2 separate regions of the Homo sapiens genome follow, and region 1 is linked to region 2. The links are contacts of gene promoters, found by promoter capture Hi-C in human tissues and cell types (Jung and others, 2019). All regions are on one chromosome and are shown on one strand. The core of a region is centred on a gene start or on the middle of the fragment in contact, and the rest is flanking DNA. Distances in the headings are between cores, read along the strand shown. Region 1 overlaps FBLN5 (fibulin 5). Region 2 holds the start of FBLN5 (fibulin 5).

What was found. The method cuts DNA at HindIII sites, captures the fragments that hold promoters and counts their contacts. A contact is called where the count stands out against the background at its distance.
Region 1: a contact is called between a fragment that was not itself captured here and the fragment with the promoter of FBLN5 in region 2, in 2 of the 25 tissues and cell types used here (aorta and pancreas).

What each region holds. Positions count from the first base shown.
Region 1 is chr14:91,910,602-91,917,437 of GRCh38, forward strand. All of the region lies in intron 4 of FBLN5 (fibulin 5), which reads right to left. Among named protein-coding and RNA genes, the nearest start is that of FBLN5, 34 kb to the right of the region's middle. The HindIII fragment of the contact is 4,313 bases long and covers 2,155-6,467 here.
Region 2 is chr14:91,942,973-91,950,117 of GRCh38, forward strand. It overlaps FBLN5 (fibulin 5), which reads right to left and starts at 4,722. Exons shown (of 11, transcript NM_006329.4): 1 at 4,241-4,722. The coding sequence starts at 4,257. The HindIII fragment of the contact is 12,789 bases long and covers 1-7,145 here.

The sequences.
Region 1 (6,836 bases), core at 3,061-5,560, 33 kb before region 2:
TCCCACTGAAAGAAATAATCGATCTGTGATCAAAAACAAAACCCCATAAAGAAAAGTCCAGCAGCCATCCTGTGCTCCTGAGAAACTTAACTCCACCCCAACAGCCCACATCTCTTCTGTAACCCCATCTCCACAGAGGAATTAAAATTCAAGCATCACGGAATCAGGGTAGAGTGCTGGGGAGAAAGGGATGGCGGGGAGAAAGATGAAGGTAGAGAAGGGGAGGCAGGGAAGGAAAGAAGCAGGAACAAAGAGGTCTGGACTATGACGTGGGCATCTTGAGCCTCTAGTAACTCGATTCAAAGGACAACACAGGCAAGTGGGAACACCAGCTTTGGGGTCGGATCTGGTTCAAATTCTGCTGCCCTCATTTTTTTAGCTTTGTAATTTTTTTTTTTTTAATACAGAGTCTCACTCTGTCACCCAGGCTGGAGTGCAGCGGCACGATCTCAGCTCACTGCAACCTCCACCTCCTGGGTTCAAGTGATTCTCCCGCCTCAGCTTCCCAAGTGGCTGAGAATACAGGTGCATGCCACCATGCCCAGCTAATTTTTGTATTTTTAGTAGAGACGGGCTTTTCACCAGGTTGGCCAGGCTGGTCACAAACTCCAGACCTCCAGTGATCCGCCCACCTCAGCCTCCCAAAGTGCTGGGATTACAGGCGTGAGCCACCACGCCTGGCCAGCTTTGTAATTTTAAACAAGTTTTTTGGTTGGTTGTTTACTTGCCCCTAAAAACCTTCGTTTCCTCGTTTGTGAAAGGAGTTGATAATGATGGTAGTTAATTCATGGGGTTTTGTGAGAATCACACATAACTAAAGCTCTTTACACAGTACCAGGCACAGAATTGGCCCTCAGTCAAGACTGGCAATAGCTTCATCTCAAGAAGTAGGAGGAGGAAGAAGAGGAAGAGAAGGGAGTGTGAGGGCGGGGAGCCCACCTCCTAAAAGAAAAAATAAAGAAGGAACTGAAAGTCAGGTTCTAGTCCGGAACCTTCCACTAGCTCCGCAGTGGCCTTCCAGCAAGTCTTTCTCAGCTCGTTTGAGAAAATAAGGCCTCTGAGGTCTCTTCTATCTGGAAAGGTTGGTGAATCCAAATGCTCTGGGGCCCAGTTGAGCTCCCTGCCCTCACTACTCACTGCCTAAACCTCTTACCTCTGCAGGGCTAAGGAGGCCCTCTGGAGGATGCAAAAGGAAAAGACGGAAAAAAAAAAAAAACGGCTGGGAGATGCCCACGCTGTGCCTCGGCACACAAAATGAGGGCATGACCTTGTAGACCTATTAGCAAGTAGGAAGAAAACTTGCTAAGAGGGTAACCTGAAAGCGGAAGACCTCCTCATCTGATGTTACTTTAAAAAGCATTTAGGAGCACAATTATTTATTTTCCAGTTTGTCTCATGTCATATGAATATTACACTGTGCATCATTGTTACATTGTATACATATTAGTTTAATGCACAAACATTGTTATAAATGTTGTTGTACTATCTAAATGTTATAATGTATAAACACTGCCATATTTCCTGAGATTTGCTCTAAAATAAGGAAGTTCTAACATTTCCCTTTGGACCTCTTTCAAGACTTTTTAAGTAGGCATCTTCAAAAGGCCCTTCGGGGCTGGGTATGGTGACTCATGCCTGTAATCCCAACACTTTGGAAGGTTAAGGTGTGAGGATCACGTGAGGCCAGGAGTTAGAGACCAGCCTGAGCAACATAGCGAGACCCTGTCTCTACAAAAAATAAAAAATAGAAAAATTAGCTGGGCAGGACGTGGTGGCCCACACCTGTAATCCTAGCATTTATGGGAGACCGAGGTGGGCAGATCACTTGAGGTCAGGAGTTCAAGACCAGCCTGGCCAACGTGGTGAAACCCTGTATCTACTAAAAATACAAAAATTAGCCAGGCGTGGTGGCACACACCTGTAATCTCAGCTACTTGGGAGGCTGAGGCAGGAGAATCAATTGAACCCAGGAGGCGGAGGTTGCAGTGAGTCGAGATTGTGCCACTGCACTCCAGCCTGGGTGACAGAGCTAGACGATATCTCAAAGAAAAGAAAAAAATTAGCTGGGCATAGTGGTGTGCACCCGTGGTCCCAGCTACTCGGGAGGCTAAGGTTGGAGGATCGCTTGAGCCCGGGAAATCGAGGCTGCCATGAGCCATGTTTGTACCATTGCACTCCAGCCTGGGTGACAGAGTGAGACTCTGACTCAAAAAAAAAAAAAAAAAGCAGTTCTTAGGGGCTCAGGAAAAGACTGAGACACTTTTCTTCTTTAATATGCTAAAGAGGTTGTTGATCCAAAAAGCAGAAAATGTACTCATCAAAATAAGAGCTGTTCACTCATCCATCCATTCATCCATTCATTCATTTAACCAATATGTATTAACCAATGTGTATTAACTCAATATGTACTCCATATTGAGTAGTGCAGAATGGATTCGTATTTTTCATTATTTGTCTTCAAACGCCCTTTTACAAGTATAATTCAATCACAAGTTTTTATCTACCTCTATTCCCTTAGGGAAGTCTAAGGTGTTACTACCCTGTCATTATAAGTGATAAAAATGAGGTGGAGATGGTTCGTGTACAGAACAAAAAATACACATCACGAACCCAACCAGCCCCTCCACTAACTAGCTTTATGTCCATTTCCCCATTTTTAAAATGGGAATATCATGCCTGAATATTTTGGAGGATTCAATGAGATAAGAGATTCCACTAGAGGAAATGCCACCTAAAATGTATTAATAGAGCCTATTACTATTAAAGAAGAAATGCATTTCTCTGGGTCATATAAGAAATAAGAGGGAGAACCGTTACCTAAATCTATTATGTATGAGACTGGGTGTGATGGTCTCACACTGCCAGTTTTACTATCCTCTCACTCACCCACTCAGTGCCTGTTTTCCAGGCCAAAGGAGGAAAGGAGTGAGCAGCATAGAAGACAATTTTGAGGGGCCATTATATTTCCAGTGCCCATTTGTGGAGTTATTTTGGAATATCAAGTAGCTGGAAGGATTGGACAATTTGAGCAGAGATAATTCTTCTAACGCCTGGTCAATAGATGTTCACTCAACTATCATTCAATTATATCAGCAAATACTTACTAAATGACATCTACATTCTTGGCATTGTGCTAGGCATTGTGGATACCAAAGTGAATAAATCATGAAGACCCTATGTCCTGATGACAACGCAATTAAGTTATAAATCAATAACAAAAAGATAATTTAAATCCCCATAAATGTGTAACATTCAGAAACTCACCACTAAATAAATCATGGATAACAAGAAGTGATTACAGGGAAAATTAAAAATTCTTACAACTTAATAGCAATAAATACCATACATCCAAACTTATAGGTCACACCAAAAAATATGTAGTCTTAAGTGCTGACTTAATGAAAGAAGAAAGGCTTACAGTTAATGAGCTAAGCAACCAGCTTAAGAAATTAGAAAAGGGGCCATGCACAGTTGCTCATATCTGTAATCCTAGCACTTTGGGAGGCCAAGGCAGGCAGATCACTTGAGCTCAAGAGTTCGAGACCAGCCTGAGAAACATGGCGAGGCCCTGCCTCTACATAAAATACAAATATTAGCTGGGCGCAGTAGCTCATGCCTGTAATCCCAGCACTTTGGGAGGCCGAGGCAGGCAGATCACGAGGTCAGGAGATCGAGACCATCCTGGCTAACACAGTGAAACCCTGTCTCTACAAAAATACAAAAAAATTTAGCCGAGCGTGGTGGCAGGCGCCTGTAGTCCCAGCTACTCAGGAGGCTGAGGCAGGAGAATGGCATGAACCCAGGAGGCGGAGCTTGCAGTGAGCCGAGATCATGCCACTGCACTCCAGCCTGGGCGACAGAGTGAGACTCTGTCTCAAAAAAAAAAAAAAAAAAAAAAAACAACAAATATTAGCTGGGCAGTATAGTACATACCTGTGGTCCCAGATACTTGAGGCCCAGGAGATCAAAGCTGCAGTGAACCATGATCATGCCACTGCATACAGCCTAGGCAACAGAATGAGACTCTCGAAAAAATAAAAAAAGAAAAAAATTTAAACAGAAACAAATCCAAAACATAGAAAGAAAAGAATAAAAAACAGGAATTGATGAAATAAAAGCAAAAGGAAAAGAAAGAGATCGGGGAGAGCAACAAAGCAAAATATTTCTTTTTGAAAACAGCAAACTGATATGACTCTGGCAATATCTGTGTGGTTTTTTTTTTTGTTTTGTTTTGTTTTGTTTTGTTTTTTGTTTTTTAATTAAAGAATTAACACAAGGCTGGGTGCAGTGACTCACACCTGTAATCCCAGCACTTTGGGAGGCTGAGGCAGGCAGATCATCTGAGGTCAGGAGTTTAAGACCAGCCTGACCAACATGGTGAAACCCCATCTCTACTAAAAATTCAAAAATTAGCTGGGTGTGGTGGCGAGCACCTGTAATCCCAGCTACTTAGGAGGCTGAGGCAGGAGAATCACTTGAACCCAGGGAGTGGAGGTTGCAGTGAGCCAAGATCGCACCACTGCACTCCAGCCTGGGCAACAGAGCAAGTTTCTGTCTAAAAAAATAAAAAATAATAAAAAAAAAAGAGTTAGCACAATATTGGGAATGAAAATACAACAGAACTACAAAGTCAGCAAAGATCAAATAGATAACACAAAGAATGGTAAGAAAAAGCTTATGCAAATGAAGCTAAAAACTTATTAAGTAGACAAGTTCTTAGAAAAAGGTAACTATGTAAAACTGACTTAAGAAGAAACAGAAAGTGCAAACAGTCCCCTAACTTTAAGAAATTATATCGTAGCGGCCAAGCACGGTGGCTCACGCCTGTAATCCCAGCACTTTGGGAGGCCAAGGCGGGTGGATCACGAGGTCAGGAGATCGAGACTATCCTGGCTAATATGGTGAAACCCCGTCTCTATTAAAAATACAAAAAAATTAGCCCAGGCGTGGTGGTGGGCACCTGTAGTCCCAGCTACTCAGGAGGCTGAGGCAGGAGAATGGCATGAACCCGGGAGGCGGAGGTTGCAGTGAGCCGATATCACGCCACTGCACTCCAGCCTGGGCGACAGAGCAAGACTCCATCTCAAAAAAAAAAAAAAAAAAAAAAAAAGAAATCATATCAGTAGCTAAAAATCTTCCCACTCACACACCCAAAAATACCAAATCTCAATGATCTTATAGGCAAATTCAAATAAACTTTCCATGAATTGAATTTGAATAAAATTTCCATGAATGACCTAAGGTTAGACCATTCTAACTTTCCAGAGAATAGAAAAGGAACAATATCTCACTCTATCAAGCTTATATGTGGACACCAAAACTAGTAAGAGTAATATTAAAAAAGAAATGTGGCAGGTCATTCTACTTTATAGACATTAATGACAAAAATCCTAAATAAAATGTTAGCCAAACAAATCCAGCAGTATATTGTAAACAAATCATACTATAACATGACCAAAGATAATGATGGTTACATATGGTAAAAATCTACCATTCTTTGCCTTTTATTTTTTGTTGTTCCTAAGGGCAGGATAACAAAGAACAGCTCAAAAGAATTCAGGTGGCCAGGCACGGTGGCTCACGCCTGTAATCACAGCACTTTGGGAGGCCGAGGTAGGTGGATCACTTGAGGCCAGGAGTTTGAGACCAGCCTGGCCAACATGGTGAAACCCCATCTCTACAAAAAGAATACAAAAATTAGCCAGGCCTGGTGGCCGGTGCCTGTAATCCCAGCTACTCAGGAGGCTGAGACAGAGAATCGCTTGAACGTGGGAGGCGGAGGTTGCCGTGAGAGGAGATCGCACCACTGCACTCCTGCCTGGGTGACAGAGCGAGATTCTGTCTCAAAATCAAACAAAAAAGAATTCAGGTGAGGGACTAGGCATTTCTTCAGATGTTCTGTAAAGAGGATTCATGGTATTATCTACCTGATAACTTTCAATGAAAGGGAGAGTTAGTTTTCTTTGGGGGCAGTATCAGTACTTGCTTACCTGAGGACAGGTGAGCAGCTCAGATGGCAGCTCTAGGCCCCTACTTTTGTTACTAGTGACCATCCCCCAATGTCATGGAAGGGTGTGTGTATGACTGAGATAGTGCATCCTTTAGTGAGTGAGTGCATCCTTTGTTATCTGTCACTGTGGGCTCAGAACAAACTTTGGGTCCTTCTGTTTCTTCTCTTTCCATGCAAAAGTTAGGATTCCAGGTACAGCTCTTGCCCTCCCACCATCCAAACTTCCTTCATCCGGTAACAGCACCCTAATTTTCCTTTAAGGAACTGCCTTTCTGCACTTTTGGTCCATGCACGGCAGGTAGCTTTGGACCCACTGCTGGTTCCGGGGTGGGCTTGTGATGTAGGCTTGCTAAATCAAAGCCCATGGGTTGCTAGTCATTGTGACGAACTCAGGGATGGGCTTGTGACCCATGCTGGCTACTAGAGCCCAACTATGACCTTTTGCCAGAGCTCGAGATTAAGGCAATCTCTCTGGGTTGTTAAACTAGAAAGACATAAGCCTGGAGCTGCCAGCGGCCTCCACTTGAGAGATCCTGCCCTGAGAATGAAGAAGCCTATGTTTTAGAGATAGTCATTGGAGAGAGAGAAAAAAATGAAGGCCATATGACACTACTTAAGCCCTTGCCCTCAGGCATGTCTGAAGCTAGTTCTACTTCTCAGCTTTCAGTTATGAAAAAACAAATTAGGCTGGGTGTGGTGGCTCACGCCTGTAATCCCAGCACTTTGGGAGGCCGAGGTGGGTGGATCACAAGGTCAGGAATTCAAGACCAGCCTGACCAATATAGTGAAACATGTCTCCACTAAAAATACACACATTAGCTGGGCA
Region 2 (7,145 bases), core at 3,472-5,971:
AAAAGTCAAATATAAATGCCCAAGACAGATTCAGGTCTAGGGGAGTGTGGGTCGCATGCGGCCCGTGACGTGTAACGGTGATATCACCTTGGGCTTGTATGGGGTGGGGTGTGCTCCAGGGAGGTCATGGTGGTTCCAGACACCGCGACCACCCAAGCAGAACCACACCTCTTCTACTTGCCTCCTGCATTGGGATCATGTGTTAGATCACACTTTTTAATAAAGGGTTTGGCTGCTTCAAAAAAAAAAGCTAAGGTCAGGTGCGGTGGCTTACGCTTGTAATCCCAGCACTTTGAGAGGCTGAGGCAAGAGGATTGCTTGAACCCAGGAGTTTGAGACAAGCCTGGGCAACATGGTGAAACCCCATTTCTACAAAATTAAAAAAAAAATTAACTGGGCATGATAGCACGCGCCTAAAGTCCCAGCTACTCAGGAGGCTGAGGTGGGATCACCTGAGCCCAGGGGGTTTGAGGCTGCAGTGAGCTGAGATCATACCACTGCACTCCAGCCTGGGTGACAGAGCGAGACCTTGTCCTCCCCCCACCCCCCAAAAAAGCTAAAACCTCCCACTATGGTATTAACCAGTTCCTTGGTCTTTATTCTTTATGCGAGATGTGCTTGACTTTTGAACATCTTTATGCTGACATGATTACAGAGTGAATAAGCCATCATCATGCCCTCAAACAGTGAAAGGAAAAGAAAGTGAGAATGTGAGGCACTTTGAGTGGCACCAAAGAAAGGTGTCACAGGAAGTCACTGAACCAGAGCATTGAGTCCACATGTGTGAAAATCCCCCATCAGTGGATGGGTTGGGGTGGCCCTGTCCCCTGAAGAGTGTGGCCTGCGGGAACTGCTGCCAGCAGGTCCTGATGGAGGAAAGGACTCGGGGAACCTGCACAGCCCAGGGAAAATGAAACCCGCGGGAAAACAGGAGGAGGAGTCACGCACCCTGGGCTCAGTTCTGCCATGCACAAGACAGTGATGCTCTGGGAGTCTGCAACTCTGCCCTTCGCCACGCACAGGCTTTAATCCAGTAAGATTGTGGCCAGCAAGATTGCTTTAAAAATACAAAAGCAGCCGGGTGTGGTGGCTCATGCCTGTAATCCCAGCACTTTGGGAGGCCGAGGCAGGAAGGTCACCTGAGGTCAGGAGTTCGAGACCAGCCTGGCCAACATGGTGAAACCTTGTCTCTCTACTAAAAATACAAAAATTTGCCAGGCATGGTGGTACACGCTCTGAGACAAAGCGAGACTCTGTCTCAAAAAATAAAAACAAAATAAAAATACAAAATCTCTACTACTTCACACTCATGAGGCTATTAAAAAATGGAAAAGAGCAAGCGTTAGGGAGGATGTGGAGAAAGTGAAACTCCTGTGCACTGTTGGTGTAAATATGGTGCAGTCTCTATGGAAAACAGTATGATGACTCCCAAAACACTAAACATAGAATTTCCATGTGATCCAGCCATTCTACTTCTAGGTATATACCCTCAAAAAATTAAAAGCAAGGACTTGAAACAGGTATTTGTAAACCTGTGTTCATAGCAGCATTATTCACAATAGCCTAAAGGTGGACGCAGTCCTTCGATGGATACATGGATAAACAAAATGCAGTCTGTACACACAAGGGAATAGTATTCAGTCTTAAAAAGGAAGGAAATTCTGACACATGCTACAATATGAATGAACCCTGACTGTATTATGTTAAGTGAAAAAAGCCACTCACAAAAAAGACAAAGTCTGCATGGGTCCATTTATACGAGGCACCTAGTGTAGTCGAAATTACAGAGACAAAAAGTGGAATGTTGGTAACCAGGGGCTTAGTGGGAGGGGAAGATGGGGAATTGTTTAATAGGTACAGAGATTCAGTCATGCAAGGTGAAAAGAGTTCTGGAGATTGCACAGCAATGTGAATGCAGTTAACACTACTGAACTAGACTCTTCAAAATGGTTATGGTAGAAAAAAAGACAAAATCAGGCTGGGCATGGTGGCTCCCACCTCTAATCCCAGCACTTTGGGAGGCCGAGGTGGGTGGATCACCCGAGGTCAGGAGTTTGAGACCAGCCTGGGCAACATGGTGAAACCCCGTCTCTACTAAAAATACAAAAATTAGCCGACTGTGGTGGCAGGCGCCTGTAGTCCCAGCTACTCTGGAGGCCAAGGCAGACAAATCACTTGAACCCAGGAGGCAGAGGTTGCAGGGAGCCGAGATTGCGCCACTGCATTCCAGCCCGGGAGACAGCGAGACTCCGTCTCAAAAAAAAAAAAAAAAAGAAAATCTAAACAAAAGCAGAGCGTTATCTAGTACTATTATTCAGTTCAACAGCAGTTTATCCAAGCAACTACTGCTTGTGGGTGTGGATGCCAGATGGAGGAGCTACAGAACTGTGAAACAACCACTACCCTTGAGAACCAGTTGGGGAGCCACGACAATGTCCATACACCTTGGCAAGGGCATGGAAAGAAATACCTATTGGGTGCCATAACAACCAGGCTGTGGGTAGCAACAAGACTTCCTGGAGAAGGTGATCTTGAAGGCTTCTTCAACAGAGCAGTGAACCTGGGGACATGGCTGAATTCTGGGGCCCGTTACTACAAACGTGCACCACAACAATATAATCCCTCCCTTTCAGGACACATGGCCCATCTGCATCAGCAACCCTGGGTATTAGAGGACCTGGAGTTAAGCTGACATCCAGAGGGAATAGGGCCCTGATACGATCTTAGGAGATGCGAGGCCATTTCCTTTATCGAGTCCCCAATCCAAAAAATAAGGACGCTGAGAGTCCACAAGTTTTCATGTAAGTGCCTGGGTGAGCCAGATTCTAGAACGCTGGAGACAGCTCTGACCTTATAAAGTGCAGAGCCAAATCCCAGGGCTTTTTGATATTTGCCATGGCCAGATTTATATCTGGAAGGAATGAAAGAACAATAACAAATTTATTTTCCAGTCTGTGTATTATGAATTTCAATGTTTTCCTGTTTCTTCACATGAAGTTTCCTTTCAGTTGGTTATAAAACCCTGTCTCGTTTATGTTGGAGAAAGAACAGGCTGACTGCAACACAGTGGACTTCAAGAGCTAGTTGAAAAGGCATGCTAACCCCATCTTTCCCCCTACTCCCCGCAGCCCCATTCCCTTTGGCTAGAGGCAGCCCTGGGACAGGTCTTGCCTCAAGCCCAGCCTCTTGGAAGAGCCACAGCTGAGTCCTGGGGGCCAAACAGGTTCCAGGCTAATAGGATTTTCCTAAAATGAAAGAATACCCAAGCACTACTGCCTCACAGCATCACGAATAGCTGCACCTTGTGATTAAAAAAAAAAAACCCTGGAAACTCCAAAAATGAACTAACTATAAGAATAGCTGGGGGGAGGCAGGTTGGTGCTCATAACCGGTCCTGGGAACTTTCTAAAGCAGGTGGGTTCGCCGGTGTTGTGCCTCAGCCTGAAACACAAGGAAAGCCGGAGAGACCAACCAAATACCAGGACTGCCTGTCACAGAAGTGCTGGTCCCCAATCCAGGATGACATTGTTACAGCTTAGTTTTCAGCACACACACACACACACACACACCCCACAGACACATACATACGCACACAAGGTTAATTTGTTCAAAGCAGTATGTTTTCAAGAGCTCGCTGAATAAAGACTGTGGGTGTCATTTAGGTAAAGTTCTCCAAGACTTAAGGATTACTTAACTGTAATTGCAATTTCCTTAAAGAATAGCAAAACATTTGCTTACATGTATCTCTGTCTGCAGTTCCCACTTCTCATTGGCTTGAAACTTCTGTGAGAATCCCACACAAACATAGAGCAAATCCAGCCCCGCGGTGTTCAGCTAGCCTGTCTGCTTGTCTATCAGCCGATGCGGCGCAGTAATTGCTAGTGAACTAGTAATTGGCCTCCCGAAATTTAAAAAATACATACAAAAATCCCTTAAAACGACAAAGTTGCTGCCCTTTCCAGAAAAGAAAGAGGAATGAAGCGCTGAGAATTTCGCAGCCCTCTCTGATGCTGGCTTTTGAAACTGTATTAGAAAATACCCACTCCCAAAAGAACGCTTCAAGATGGAAATTACAGAGGCGCAGCTTTTTATAATTAACAATATCATTGCATCACTAGCTCATGCCTTTTCCAATATCCTGACACCGCCTGAATCGCAGCCATAACCATTTTCCACCCATCGGATTTTTAGCAAGGCTTCCAGACCCTGGAGAAAGAAAAGTCCAGCGCCGAGAACCCACCTTTTTATTCCTGGCATGTCCAAGACGCGCGAGGAGGAGATGCGAAGGCGAGAAGAAAGCTCGCGGGCGGGACCCCCGGAGGAGCTCGGGCACGTCGGCCTCCTCTGGGCCCTCGGGGCTCGCGGGTGTTTTATTCCAGAGGGGCCGAGCGAGTCGTGGAGAGGACACGGGGAGAGCGCCGGGGTCCTCCCAGCCACTGCAGAGCCCTCAGCGCAAGCACCTGGTTTTGCTTAGCCCTCTTCAGTAATTCAGCATTAAACCAATTGGAGGAGGAATGTTAAAAATGAACACTTCATTTTCTAAGTATGTTAAACAATGCAAATGGGGCCTCAGTCTGGACACAGCTGGTTCAGATTACAGCGCTCACCAACTGGCTAGACTCCTCACAACAATCTTGGGGCGTCTGCCAGGGCCCAGTGCTCGGCGCTGGGAGGAGAGCCCTTCCCCGGCCGCGCTCGGCTGCGAGCGCCCGGGCAGAAGGCGAGGGGCGGGCGCGCGCAGGGGTGCGGGGGCTGGGAGGGCCCGGGCCCCTTGACCTTCCCACCCAGGGGCGGGGCGGGGCTGGCAGCGCGGCCCGGCGGGGAGGGGCGTGCACGCCCGCGCTGCGTGGCAAGGGGACCCGCGAGAACGTTGTCGCCTCCGGAAGGAAAGGGACTTGAACTCACGACCCACGCAGCTCCAGGGACTAGAAACTCACGATCGATTGGGAAACCAGAACCTACGAAGCAGAGGCTTGGGGCGAGCGACGGGAGAGTCGCGATCTTCCCGAAGAAGGGGTGGGGAGCAGCGGGGTGGGGTGGGGGGGAAGAGGATGGAATCCCGCTGGTGCGAATTCCAGACTTCAGCTTGTGCAATGCAAGTCTTAGGACGCTTTTCTCTCCCCGCCCTCATTCCCCGATTCTCCCTGGCATTTTCTCGCTTTCCTGGAAAAGTGTCCCCTGGCTCGAAAGTGATTTTAACAAGTTAAACGGTGATTTGAAGAAGGGACAGTCTGGAAAAGCAGAATGGTGGAGACAGCACATAAGACATGCTGAGTCCTTTGCATTCATTCTAGTGGAGGCTTCAACCTGTTTCTTTTTCCTGTTTGTTTGTTTGTTTGTTTGTTTGTTTTTAAGCCATTGGAGTACTTTTGTCAATGAAATCTTACAGAAGGCACTCACTCTATAAAACGCCAGTGGATGGACTGTGGCCTATCCCATCTGCTTCCACCTGCATCTTCCTACCTGCAGCCGAAAAGCCCTGATCCAGGTCCCCTGTCCTCACCACCACTCTAAGCAGTAGGAATGATCATCTCCATGTTATTAGAGGTGAAGATAAGAGAGGTTAGGTAACCTCCCCATAGTCACGCAGCTATTCATTGGTACAGCTGAGCCTCTGGAGTCTACATATTTAGCCTTCCCTAAGGCATTTTTGGGGGTAAGTAAATGGAATTCTACCCAAAGGAGAATAACAGAATGTGGATAGTTGTTGAAGCTGTGTCCATTATACTAGTCTAATCTATTTCCTTTTACGTGTTTGAAATTTCCTGTAAAACACTTTTTTAAATACCTTATGTTTATAAGGTTGTTCATCCCCCCATTGTTTGTAAAAGCAAAAGATTATAAACACCTTTAAGGTCGATCAGCAAGGCACCAATAGGGTTAAATAAAGTAAGGGGCTTCCAAAGGGACTATTGTGCAACCAATTAAAACCTAGACACTTAAGAGTCCACATCAAACGACTCCATTTATATAAAATTCAAAGTCAGATAGTGACTGGGAGGCAGCCCAGCCCCTTCTGGGTGCTGGTAATAATCTAATGATTGATCTGGATGCTGGTTATGTAGGGGTGTGTACATTTAATATTTGTGAAGTCTTATGTATGTTATATCTTATTTTGAAAAAAAGACTGAAACAGCTCCGTATGCACTGCTATTGAAGGGTTTCCAATATATTTTGTGGGTCAAAACAGTAGAATATTGGTAATTTCACATAGATTGATCTAATATAGTAATAAATGTAAAAAGTAAGCTGCAGAACTGTGTGTAAAGCATGCCATCATTTGTGGGAAAAAAAATAAATACATAAGTTCTTGCTTGTACACGTACAGAAAAGACATCACCTGAAGGATGCACAAGAAACCATGAGTATTATTGGTCTTAGCTCAGGCTGCTATAACAGAATACCATAGACTGGGTGGTTTATGCAATAACATTTATCTCTCCCAGTTCTGGAGGCTGGAAGTCTGAGATCAGGGTGTGGGCATAGCCAGGTTCTCATGAGGGTCCTCTCCTGGTTGCAGATGACTGTCTTCTTGCTATGTCCTCACATGATGGAGAGAGGGAGACTAGGGTTCCTTTTTTTGAGATGGAGTCTCACTCTCTCGCCCAGGCTGGAGTATGGTGGTGTAATCTCGGCTCACTGCAAGTTCTACCTCCCAAGTTCAGGCAATTCTCCTGCTTCAGCCTCCCAAGTAGCTGGGATTATAGGCACGCACCACCGTGCCTGGCTAATTTTTGTATTTTTAGTAGAGATGGGGTTTTGCCATGTTGGCCAGGCTGGTCTTGAACTCCTGGGCTCAAGCAATCCATGGGCCTCGGCCTCCCAAAATGCTGAGATTACAGGCTTGAGCCACCGCGCCTGGCCAGAGACTGGGATTCCTTTTATAAGGGCACTGGTCCCATTCGTGAGAGCTTCACCCTCATGATCTAATCACCTGCTGAAGGCCTCATCTCCTAGAGCCATCACCTTGGGGATTCAGATTTCAACATATGAATCTGGGGGTTTAAACATATGGTCTGTAACCATCTCCTAGGAGGGAAATCAGGCAGACAATTGGAAAAGAAATAGGAGAGGAAAATTCGCTCCTCATTGCTCACTTTTTGGCATAACTTGAATTTTGTACCTTGTACCTGTATTACCTATTC